3 separate regions of the Homo sapiens genome follow, and regions 2 and 3 are each linked to region 1. The links are contacts of gene promoters, found by promoter capture Hi-C in blood cells and fetal thymus (Javierre and others, 2016). All regions are on one chromosome and are shown on one strand. The core of a region is centred on a gene start or on the middle of the fragment in contact, and the rest is flanking DNA. Distances in the headings are between cores, read along the strand shown. Region 1 holds the start of KIAA2012. Region 2 overlaps CDK15 (cyclin dependent kinase 15). Region 3 overlaps CDK15 (cyclin dependent kinase 15).

Region 1 (4,183 bases), core at 471-2,970:
CCAGGAGTGCTGACTGGCATTGTTCTTATCTTGAGGTTTGCTGACAGGAACATAGTCTTCTGGGGACCTCCAGTTCAAGTAATCCTGCAATGAGAAGCAGCCACTTTGACGGAGCCACTGTGGAAGACCTTTCTATAGCAAATACTGCTTGTGCAAAGCCTTCGGCATTTTTTTAGTTACTGATTTTCTCTGAACTGTTCACATGGTGTTATGGAACACAATTGCTCTTCTTAGCAACTGCCTTTTCTCTCCACATTTCAAAATTAGTAGAACCCAGGGCATGGTTCTATTTCACCCCATACAACTTTCAGGAGAGTCATGTATGGCTGGAGGATTAACTCAGCTTGTATGTAGGTTACAGGCCAGTTAAAGTTTCCTGGTATGCAAGTAAGTGGTCAGAATTATTAAGGGCAGCAGATAACTTTGAAATTAGACCTGGACTAGCTGGCAGTTTAAATAGGAGCATTCCAAGCCACCACCACTTCAGCTGTACGTGGGGAGAATTTCTATACATTCCAGATGCTATGTAACATTACCTAATTTGGCTATTTAGGGGCCTATAAAGCAGTTACATATCTTGTAGGTAAGAAAATGCCATTGGCCATACAGGTCCTTTGAAACTTTATATGCCGTTTAACACAGCAAAGGTCAAATATCATGACAAAGTACCATGACAATGGAAATCTCTGTATGACCCCCAAATTTGCAAAGTATCCCCAATAGGTTTCTTATCCCTGGCAGGATTCAAGTGAAATAAAAATCTAGTATAACAAGGGAATTTTGCCACCTCTTTAAAATCTTCTAAAATGAGGTGGGTTTTTTTTTGGCCTATATTAAATATGAGTCCTGTGGGTTGAATTCCAGAAAGTTCAAGGAAGCCATTGAAATGGCATGAACACACACAGCATTTCAACTGCAGAGCACGACTTCCAAAAACCAAACAACCATCAGTTTGCCTAGAACCCAGGTGGAAATTCTGGTCTTGCACCAAACCATCCAAATTCCAGACAATCTGGAATCTCCTTTGGTCCAAGCAAAGACAGCTACAAGGGGAAAGATGAGGGCCTCAGGGGCAATCTCGGTGTGTCAGGAAAATGATGTTATTTTCTTGAGTTTCATGAAGGAGGAAGGAAGATCTTCCAGTGACCCCGCCACCTCACTAACAACACAAACCAAGACACACATGGTTTACCTCCCAAGTGGAAACATAGAGCATTCCTCTCCCACCTCCAAAATGTGCCTTTCTTCAGCTGTGGGACTCACCTCTGGTTCAAAGTAGACTTCTAACTTCTGTTTGTCCTGGCCCAGCTTCCCGTGGCCCCGGCTCAGGAGGGAGAGCGTGAACATGTTTCCCTCTGACCACCCCTTCTCAAGGGCAGTCCATCTTGGTTTTGAAGGCTGAAATCTGGTCACACCTCAAGATTTCCAGAGCTCACAGCAAGCCCAAGAAGACCACAAACACAGGGCCTTTTATTAAATACATTTTTCCCTCTCGCAGCAGCTTCTTAGTAACAACCAGCCACACAGTTTAGACAGTGTGTGTCTTTGTGGAGAGAAAAAATAAACCGCACAGCCAGCCTCCTCAAGCCCTGGATTGTCTACTCTCTGGGCGACCTGTCTCTCCCCTTCTCCTGAGCTCTTGTTGTCCCTTGGTCCCGGTTGCTCTGTTACCAGCCGTGTGCATCTACAGATCTCGGCCACAGCACCATCCTTCTTGTCTGAGCGGAGGTTGTTTCCTGGTTGCTATGGCAGCACAGGGAAATGAAGTCCCTTAAACTAACCCAGGCAAGGCAGAGACGGGTGCCGGGTGCAGTGTGCATTCCCCGGGGATGGGGGTGGGGGTCAAATGGACACTGAAGGGACCAGGCTCAGGTTGCAAGTCCCAGTTGCATGGGGTGGGGGACTTGTTGGGGTACTTTTTCTGTTATTGTTCTCATCTTGTTTTTAGAGAGCGTCTTCCCCTCTCTCCTGATATGTGAGCCTGTCACTGTCAACTAACCATTAACAGAGCCAGGGTGTAATCTAGGTCACCTAAAACCACCTGTGACTTTTTCCTTGGCTGAGCTCCATCATCCCCTCAACTGGACACGAGACCTCATTATGGTAGTTGCTGCTTTGCCTGAGCGGGAGACACTGGGATTCTCTAGCTTCCTTTGCATACCTGGTTCTCAACTGGGCAAGCTATCCCCTGATGGGGGTGCTCTGGAAATGTGGGTGGGGGACATTTTGGTTGTTGCAATGATTGGGGGTCTTGCTGGCATTGATCAAGCAGAGGCCCCAGATGCTAAATGTTCTACATGGTGTGAAATTCCCACATAGTGATGAACTGTCCCACTAGAATGCCAGGAGCACCTGCTTTGAGAAGCACTGTGTAGCCTGGGATGCTTGGGTCTCTTTAACAGTGACATTGTGACGAGCACAGACAGGAGGGAAGAGGGTCAGGAAACAAAAAGACCCCTTTGCTGGGGATCTAGGAACCTGCTCAAGCCTGGAAAAGCAAGCTGCCTGTTAGCTGTCAGCTGAACTACCCTGGCAGTCTTGTGGGAGTGCCCACTGCTGGCCTATATGAAGAAGCACAACAGGCTACAAGCCCACTTACCTTTTTGATCTTCCTATGTGGCACTTTCCCCTCCCCCTCTGACCCCTCCACCCCCAACCAAGTTCAAGTCTCCTGAGAAAGAAATAGAGGTTCTGTTGTAAAATAAAATAGGGTTTATTAGGGGGAATCAAGACAGCGAATGAGTGAATGCAGAGGCTCCAAACAGAATTTAATCAAAACCACAATGAGATACCACTTCACACCTACTAAGATGGCTATTATTAAAAAACAAAAACAAAAACAGAAAATAACAAGTATTTGGTGAAGATACGGAGAAATTGAAAACCTTGTGCATTGCTGTTGGAAATGCAAAATGGCGCAGCCTCTGTAGGAAATGGTATGACAGTTTCTAAGAAAATTAAACAGAATTACCGTATCACCAGTAATTCCACTTCTGGGTCTGTATACCTAAAGGAGGTGAAAGCAGGGTCTCAAAGAGATATTTGTATACTCATATGCAGAGCAAAACTGTTTATAAGAGCCAAAAGGTGGAAGTAACTCAAGTGTCCATCGACAGATGAATGAATCAACAAAATGTAGCATATGCATACAATGCAGTATTATTCAGCCTTAAGAAGGAAGGAAATTCAGTTGGTCACCATGGCTCATGCCTGTAATCCCAGCACTTTGGGAGGCCGAGGTGGGCGGATCACCTGAGGTCAGGAGTTCGAAACCAGCCTGGCCAACTTGATGAAACCCCGTCTGTACTAAAAATAAAAATTTAGCCAGGTGTGGTGGCACACGCCTGTAGTCCCAGCTACTTGGGAGGCTGAGGCAGGAGAACCGCTTCAACCTGGGAAGCGGAGGTTGCAGTGAGCCGAGATCATGCCACTGTACTCCAGCCTGGGCAACAGAGTGAGACTCCATCTCAAAAAAAAAAAAAAAAAAAAAAAAGGAAGGAAATTCAGACATATGCTACAACACGCATGTACCTTGAAGACATTACACTAAACAAGATAAGCCAATCATGAAAGAACAAACATTGTATGATTTCTCTTATGTGAAGTACTTAGAGTGGTCTGATTCACAGAGACAGAAAGTTGAATGGTAATTGACAGGGGCTGTCAGGGAGAGGGGAATGGAACATCAGTGTATAGTGGGTACAGAGTTTCAGTATGAGAAGATGAAAAAGTTCTGAAGGTGGATTCACAACAATATGAATGTACTTAATGTCAATGAACTGTAAACTTAAAAATGTTAAAATGGTCCATTTGAGCCAGTGCAGTGGCACACACCTGTCATCCCAGCTACTCCGGAGGCTGAGGCAAGAAGATCCCTTGGGCCCGTGAGTTTGAGTTCAGCCTTAGTGACAATGTGAGATCTCATCTCTAAAACGAAAGTAAATTTATGTTACATATATTTTACTACAATTAAAATTTTTTTCCGGTTGGTTGTGGTGGCTCATGCCTGTAATCCCAGCACTTTGGGAGGCCAAGGCAGGTGGATCACTTGAGGTCAGGAGGAGAACAGCCTGCCCAACATGGTGAAACCTCGTCTCTACTAAAAACACAAAAATTAGCCAGGCATGGTGGTGTGCCTTAAGAAGGAATCCCAACTGTAATCCCAACTGCTTGGGAGGCTGAG
Region 2 (4,183 bases), core at 912-3,411, 240 kb after region 1:
ATTTAAACCTTCTGATTGGTTATAAATATAAATGTCCATGGAAAAGGTAATACAAACAACCAGCTTAAATTCCAGGTAAAAGACAAGAAGATATGATAGTATGTGCTTAAAAATACGTTTTTCAGACTGGCGCAGTGGCCCACGCCTATAATCCCAGCACTTTGGAAGACCAAAGCGAGCGGATCACCTGAGGTCAGGAGTTCGAGACCAGCCTGGCCAATGTGGTGAAACTCCATCTCTACTAAAAATACAAAAATTAGCCAGATGTGGTGGTATATGCTTATAATCCCAGCTACTCGGGAGGCTGAGGCAGGAGAATTGCTTGAACCTGGAAGGCAGAGGTTGCAGTGAGCCAGGATCGTGCCTCTGCACTCCAGCCTGGGTGGCAGAGCAAGACTCCATCTCAAAAAAAAAAAAAAATGTTTTTCAATATGCAGGACTAGGGAAAGAGGAAGAGGAAGACAGGTGGATAGAAGACAGGAAGCTGGTGACCAGTGAGGGATACAACCTTTGGGATAGCATGCTTATCCTCAGTTTACAGAGAAAACCAGGGCTCAATGTAACTTTTAAAACATGTCTAGGAATAGTCAGAGCCAAGACTCAAATTCAGACTTGTCTGACTCCACTATACCATCCTGAGAAACTAGAGAAAAGACAGAAAATGAAAACATGACAGGGAAGGAGAGAGCCAGCTGGCTGAGTCAGAGACAGAGCTTCTTAGTAGGTCAGCTTGAAATGCCTTTTATGTCCCAAGTGTAGACTATTTTCACTAACTAGCCACAGTCCCTTCCCACATTCTTGCCATTCAACCCCTTTCCTCTCTGCCAGATACGTCTACAGGCATTTGTGAGTGGTAAAGCACTGCGGTATTAAGGTATGGTATTTTATAACCACATTTCTCAAAATTGCAGTCTGTGCTGACAAACCTCATCACCCACTCACCCTTTCATCCCTTCCAACCTGGATTCTTCATTCAACACTACAGAAGCTTCACCAATTATTGCATCCTAACATAACCAAATATGATGGTGTCTGCACAGTTCAACATCAGCCAGATCGTGGGTGACTCTTTCCAGAAAGGCTTCCCAGATCCCAGGAGTTAGACCTGTTTCCAACTCAATAAGTTTTGGGGGAACAAAATAATTCCATTGAACTAGTGCCATCTGGGCCAGGAGTTACTCAAAAACCAATGAGATCCGTTAGCCAACTCCTTATAGGGAAGCCTGAGTCCTTCCATCCCCCCTGGAATCCCTGGGACTCATTCTACTAGAAATCTGAAACAAGATAACCTCACGAGGATTCCCACCCTGTCTTCCTTGGTCACAACTCAAAATATAAGCCTCTGACTATTCCTTTTCCTCCCAACATACTCATCTCCATTCTGTTCTGTGCTTCCTCTGTTTAGCTTCATATCTATTGCTCCTCTCTCTCCCAAACATTTTCACTGTTTAGTCTCCATTCTTCAATCCTGCTTTAAAAACTACCTAAAAGCTAACCTCTGGTGAATTTCCTTTTGGCTCCTTTCCTTAAATGAGACCTTGAGCTCACTGCTTCCCTATAATATTCTCAAGTGGATGTTAGTTTTTCTATAACTTCCTCATACCTTTGACCACTGACAAGTGTCATAAGCTGCCTCCCTTTTCCCCACTACCACTTCAAAACCATTACTTCTCTACTTTTAAGTAAAAACCCCTGTCCCTTGGATTTTAATGCCATCCAGCCACATCTTCCATTACTCTTCTTTTAGCGGTCATTCACTGAACTCTCAATCCCTCTCTGTCATTCACTGAAGATGTGGGCACTTGGATCACAGCTGTTGACTCCATGACATTAGTGCCCATGAGAACAGCTCTAGCCAACCTCAGCTCCAATGATCTGCTTCTCCAATCCACTTCAGACACTAACTCCCGTGGTCACACACTAGATCTTGCCATTGTATGGAACTGTTTGTCCTCTGAAATACAAAATTCATCCCCCTATAAAAATGCTTTTGCAACGATTGTGTCATTCACAATGTTTTTTTACCATGGTTTCCCATGACTTTTCCTATGAAATCCAATGGATACTTCTTATTCCTTATCTTTGCAGCATTTGGCATCATAGACCATGCCTTCCTTCCTGAGGCACTCTCTTCTTTTGGTTCCACAATCTCCTAATTTTTCTTCTGCCCCTCTGGCTGTTCTTTTTATAGGTTCTACTTCTACTAAAATCTAATATATTGATATTCTGGCCAGGCGCAGGGACTCACACGTGTAATCCCAGAACTTTGGGAGGCCAAGGCAGGAGGATTGCTTGAGTCCAGGAGTTCGAGACCAGCCTGGGCAACATAGCAAGACCCCATCTCTATAAAAAACAAAAATAGGCCAGGCACAGTGGCTCATACCTGTAATCCCAGCACTTTGGAAGGCCAAGGCAGGTGAATCACTCAAGGTCAGAAGTTCAAGACCAGCCTGGCCAACATGGTGAAACCCCGTCTCTACTAAAAATACAAAAATTAGTCAGGTGAGGTGGTGGGTGCCTGTAGTCCCAGCTACTTGAGAGGCTGAGGCAGGAGGCTCCCTTGAACCCAGGAAGCGGAGGTTGCAGTGAGCTGAGTTTGCGCCACTGCACTCCAGCCTGGGCAGCAGAGCGAGACTCCCATCTAAAAATAAATAAATAAATAAAAATAAAATTAAAAAATAAAACATAATAAAATAATAAATAATAACTTATTGTTATTCTTAGGGTTCCGTCTTTGATCTTCTGTTATCACTCTACACATGCTCCCTTAGCTATCTTACCCACTGACAGTGCTCTAATGAACAACCGTATTCTGATGATTTCAAAATCTTTATCTCCAACTCAGATTGCCTTTCTACTTTAGGCCCACACAGTCTGGAGCTCGCCTGTACATCCCATAATCACCTCAAACTTAGCATGTCTAAAACACAATTCATGGTATCTCTCCAAAATAAATTTTTCTTTCTGATTCTCTATCACAGTGAATGGCACCATCATCCATTTTAATACTCAGATCCAGAAAAAAATATCGCTGACTCTTGTTTTTCCCGTCAGTTCCGGCTAAGTAATTGGTCTCATATCTGTCCACTTTCTCCCACCATCATCTCACATCTGTACCACTGTGGTTCTGATTAGCCTCACTGTCAAGGCTGGAACCTTAACAGACACCAGCATTCAGGGAATGAGTAGAGGGAGAGAAGTTTTCTGTGTGAGTAGGGGGAGAGAGGTAGAAGAAAACAAGGAGAAAGTAGGGTCAGGGGAATATAACATTTCAAAAAAAAAGTATTGCCCTCATCCCAATCTATTCACCACACTGTCATCAGTGTAAGCTTTATAAAAAGAAAATCTGAATTTATCACCTCTTTGTTTAAAACCATTTAATGGCGCCTGATATAAAATAGCACGACTGTGATATTGTGAAATATATATTTGATCTTCAACTAAATTCCTGACAGCCAACTCCTAAAATCCTTAGAATCTCCAAAGTGATGTCTTTTTGTAGAGTTGACTGATAGCTGGCAGACCATTGGGTAGCTTAGGATAGGGACTGGTCACTGGAAAGACCAAGGCATGATTAGGGAGGGGAGAGGGGTTGAAGGTTAAGTTGATCACCAGTGGCCAATAGTTTAATAAATCATGCCTACACAATGAAGCCTATGCAAAACCCAGAAAGATTAGGGTACAGAGACCTTCTGGATAGCTGAACTCTCATGGAGGCTTCTGGAGGGTGGCTTGCCTGGGATGGGCATGGATGCTCTGTGCCCCTTCCCACATTCACTGATGCCTCCACCTTGGAGAACTCATCCCTACTCCCACCTGCTTTGATTTGGATAACCTCTTCCTTTGTGCCTCCATATACCCACAATAAATTCCTTTATTTATTAGTGTGTCCCTCACAAATCCACAAGGTCAATGCATCAAGAGTATGACTTTTAGCTGTATTCCTGATGCTTGTAATACTGTCCACCATACCCTCCTTCTTGAAATTCTTCTTCCCTTGACTTCCATGACAGTGTGTATTTTTTTTTCAGATGCTCTACATTCCTACAAGCTGCTTCCCTTCATTCCTTCATTTCCTGTTCCTCTTCTCATCCTAAAAGGCAAAAGTCTCATCATCAGTCCTCCTCTCTTTGTGTATTTGCTCTTTTGGTTGCCTACTCCTTGTCTTCTAAACTCTATGTGC
Region 3 (4,183 bases), core at 1,252-3,751, 220 kb after region 1:
CCTGTAGTTCAGTGCCTGTCTCCTCCCCTCTGTCTCAACATCCTTGAAGTGACTACTGCTTAATCTGATCCCTCTGATGTGGCCCTGCGACAGCTTCTCAAAGAATTCCCCCATGGATAACACTTCCAGCACTTCTAAATCGATCCCAGAAGCCAGTCTTGAAAGATGAAATGTGTGAGAGACAATGACCAAGTGTCAGGTTTACAGGCAATGAATGAACTCTTAGTAAGTATAACCTACAGACAGCTTACTTGGCATGTCCTAGGCCTAGCGAGCCTCTACCTCTGTTCTGTTGCATTAGCTTTCTTTTTATACATATGCAATTCAATACTAATCAATACACTTATGACAGTCAGGGGGCCCAAAAGTGAGCCCATCTTTTGAGTTGTTCTTTTGAGCCATTGGGTATTTGACAATGGATGTGGAATCCACAGTAATAGTCATTTCAAATTCTATTCAGCTTGCTACTTGTGTTTTACAGAGCTGGGGAACTGGTCTAACCTCAGCTACTCTTTCAGTGTCTTCCTCATACAAAGATTAGTCAGGGAATATATGAATGTAGAAATTCCTCTACACCCATCTTTGCCGCTGAGTTCACAATACAAGAACGCCCTGTTAGCGTGGCCAATGCTCTCCTTACATTACTAATTCTCAGAGTATTCAGAAGCTCAGATCAATATTACCTGGATTGTAGTTAGGTAGCTTGGAGACTCCCGGCCAAGTATCCTCTGTAGGGACTCCCAGCACCTATATAAAGCCAAACAAAGAAAAAGAAAGGTGAGGTGGGGAGATGAGGTGGATGGAAGAGGTATGGAGACATGCAGGACAAATCAGGGAAGAACAGGGAAGCGTCAGATGTATGTCCCATTGCATGACACCAGCTGATGTATACGAGAAAGAAACTTGAGTGTTTCCAACGTTTGTGGTTTCTTGGGCAAAACTGTAATACATTCCTATGGTCCGGGGCCTGCATTCTTACTGACTCACTTGTTCTGAGGCAGATCATACAGCCTTGCTCAAAGTCATGTTCTCATCACTGAACATTTACTGCATGATTATCATGCATTAGGACACCATGTTGGGAGCTAGGGATATAAAGAAGCAGGAGTGACTGTCTCTTTGCCTTGCATCAGATGACCACATGTATATTGACAGGAGACACTTGACAGCTTAAATTATGCCTCAGCATGGGTATTCAGCTGTTCCCTGATGTGCTCAAATTAAAAAGGATTCAGATTACTGAGCTTCAGGCAATGGAATGTTGGCTAAAGATGACCCCAAAACTAACTCTAGTCTTTTCTATTACATTCATCTCATCTGCTTGTTTTCTCTGTGACTAGCAGCTTGGAATATGGTATTTGGTTTTTCACTGATGGATTGTCATGGGAACAACATCACTTGAAAAAGGGCTGGTCTATGCTTTGAATTACCGATGTTTTTTTTTTTTGAGACGGAGTCTCGCTCTGTCGCCCAGGCTGGAGTGCAGTGATGCGATCTCGGCTCACTGCAAGCTCTGCCTCCCAGGTTCACACCATTCTCCTGCCTCAGCCTCCTGAGTAGCTGGGATTACAGATGCAAGCCACCACGCCTGGCTATTTTTGTTGTTGTTGTTGTTGTATTTTTAGTAGAGACGGGGTTTCACCGTGTTGGCCAGGATGGTCTCAATCTCCTGACCTCGTGATCTGCCCACCTCGGCCTCCCAAAGTGCTGGGATTTCAGGCATGAGCAACCGCGCCTGGCCTTGAATGACCAATTTAAAGCCCCAGTTTTTAGTTAAGATGTATGAAAATAAAGTCTTTCGGAGTATAAAGCCAAAACAGCTCAGACTTTGGATGAAGCCAGCACCATGAGTTCCCCGGTAGGCATTACCTTAGTATTTTTTTTTTTTTAAAGAATAATCATAAAAGCCCATAGACAGTTATATATGGGAGACAGAGTAACATTGTTCTTGTGAAATACTAATAAAACACTAGTAGCTTTCATTACACTACTACAGTATAACTTTTCTTAGAAGCATATCTCACTATAACTCTTTTTAGAAACATCTCTTACAGAAAGAGTCTAGCGAATCCATCTGTAAAATGCTGGTTATAGATACTGGCCCAATTATTATGGCAGGGAGTCAATTGCCCAACAATGACTGAATATAATCAATGAAGAATCCAGAATCTTAGTGTCTATCAGCTTGTTGACTAGGAATCTGGCTGAGAGATGTACTTTTTAGCATCTGTTAAGCTTGTCTTTAAACAAAAGACAGTGAAGTGCTATTTTCCCTCATATAATAAAAAAATCATGCCACCCAGTAAAATCTTCCTTCTTTGATCCATTCCCTAAACAAACTGAAAAGTGACTGAGAGGATTATAGGCTTTTCCTATCAACCACCCTGAGCCCGAGGGAACACTAAGAATCCTGGAATCCATTTTGAAAAACCAACTGGACTAATTCTTCTTTTGTGGGAGAAGGCCAGGGGACAAGAAACTAATTCTTCTTTTTTTAACCTACCATCTTATGTATTTGCACAGATGCATGTGTAAACAAGTGGGTGTGAGTCACATGTACCCATACATCCTCTGTTGGCTGGCAAAGTGCAGTGAAAAGAAAGCAAAGATAATGAAGAGAAAACAATAGAAGAAATAGGTGACAACCACTATCATGTTTTCTCTAAGGTGAAAGTTACCAGATGGTTGGTTACTTTGTATGATATTTAACTAAAGCCAACAAAATGGATACTAAAAAAAGTTTTTTTAATCTTATGTTCAAAGCTTTAAGCTTGAGATTTTAAAAGTTTAAACAAAAATTCAATATACTTTATTTGGAAATTTGATCTCAGTTTCTATTTGCAAGTTATTGAATTCTTTTTCACTTGAGAAAATTACTAAATCTCTCCTTCACTGTCTGGGAAACTGAAAACCAAAAATTGTTGTTTTGCTCCCTCCCTGAAGGCTCTTAAAAGGCAGCCAGTGAGTGCTATGTTTCAAACCACAGTGGTCTGAAGGGGCTGTTTATCTGCCTTTGTTGGAATGGAAACTAAAAGCATTTTGATTAATGGATTCAAAGTTTGCATAGTTTATTCTGATTTTAGAACTAAATCCAGGATTATTTATGAAAAACACTTATTTAAAATTAGTTTTTAAAATTGATCAGAAAGTGGTGACAGCTATTATTTAGATGTAAACACACACACTACAGGCACTTCAGAAAAATAGTAAAATAGAGACTCAGGACTTCTCAATGTGTTTTTATTCCTAAGAGTGAGATCTCAGGATAAATATAGAACAAATTATGGTTAGAGGTTAGGAGATTTAGAATGGACCCATTGCTTTCAGGGATGCACTTCTGACATCAAATATCACAGATTCTGAAGTGTAGCTTTCCTGTTTTCATCTGTGTAGGCTACGTTTAGTAAAACACAAATTCAGGAACTATTTATAATCTGTATAATTTTCTAACCTGCTTATAGGCAACAAATGTGAAAATAGACAAATGGGAATAAATAAAACTAAAAAGTGTCTTCAGAGCAAAGGAAACAATCATTAGAGTGAAGAGACAACCTACGATGGGAGAAAATATTTGCAAGCCATACATTTGATAAGGGGTTAATATCAAAAATATATAAGGAACTCAATAGCAAGAAGACAACCCCATTAAACAGTGGGCAAAGGGCCGGGCACGGTGGCTCACGCCTGTAATCTCAGCACTTTGGGAGGCTGAGGCAGGTGGATCACCAGAAGTCGAGAGTTCGAGATCAGCCTGGCTAACATGGTAAAACCCTGTCTCTACTAAATATACAAAATTAGCTGGGTGTGGTAGTGCACACCTGTAATCCCAGCTACTTGGGAAGCTGAGGCAGGAGAATTGCTTGAACCCAGGAGGTGGAGGTTGCAATGAGCCAGGATCAAGCCACTGCATTCCAGCCTGGGCAACAGAGTGAGACTCGGTCTCCAAAAAAAAAGTGGGCAAAGGACTTGTTGTGGTTTAAATGTTTGTATTCTCTTCATAATTCATGTTGAAACTTTATCCCCAATGCAACAGTATTAAGAGGTGGGGCCTTTAGCCACCTTTAGCGTGTGATTAGGACACAAGGACAGAGATGAATGCCCTTATAAAGGAGCTAGAGGGAATCAGTCAGGCCCGTTTGCTCTTCTACCCTTCCACCATGTAAGGACACAGCATTTGCCCTCT

The links. Contacts are between HindIII fragments. The CHiCAGO score rates a contact against its expected background, and 5 or more counts as called.
Region 2: a contact is called between a fragment that was not itself captured here and the fragment with the promoter of KIAA2012 in region 1, in 1 of 17 cell types (endothelial precursors). The highest score is 7.0, in endothelial precursors.
Region 3: a fragment that was not itself captured here is called in contact with the fragment with the promoter of KIAA2012 in region 1 in 2 of 17 cell types (M2 macrophages and M0 macrophages); the score reaches 5.2 in M2 macrophages.

What each region holds. Positions count from the first base shown.
Region 1 is chr2:202,070,792-202,074,974 of GRCh38, reverse strand. KIAA2012 reads right to left here and starts at 1,720. Exons shown (of 24, transcript NM_001277372.4): 1 at 1,264-1,720; 2 at 1-84. The coding sequence starts at 1,347. The HindIII fragment of the contact is 5,257 bases long and covers 1-4,183 here.
Region 2 is chr2:201,828,286-201,832,468 of GRCh38, reverse strand. All of the region lies in intron 6 of CDK15 (cyclin dependent kinase 15), which reads right to left. Among named protein-coding and RNA genes, the nearest start is that of CDK15, 24 kb to the right of the region's middle. The HindIII fragment of the contact is 2,341 bases long and covers 991-3,331 here.
Region 3 is chr2:201,851,438-201,855,620 of GRCh38, reverse strand. CDK15 (cyclin dependent kinase 15) reads right to left here. Exons shown (of 14, transcript NM_001366386.2): 10 at 684-747. Among named protein-coding and RNA genes, the nearest start is that of CDK15, 47 kb to the right of the region's middle. The HindIII fragment of the contact is 528 bases long and covers 2,238-2,765 here.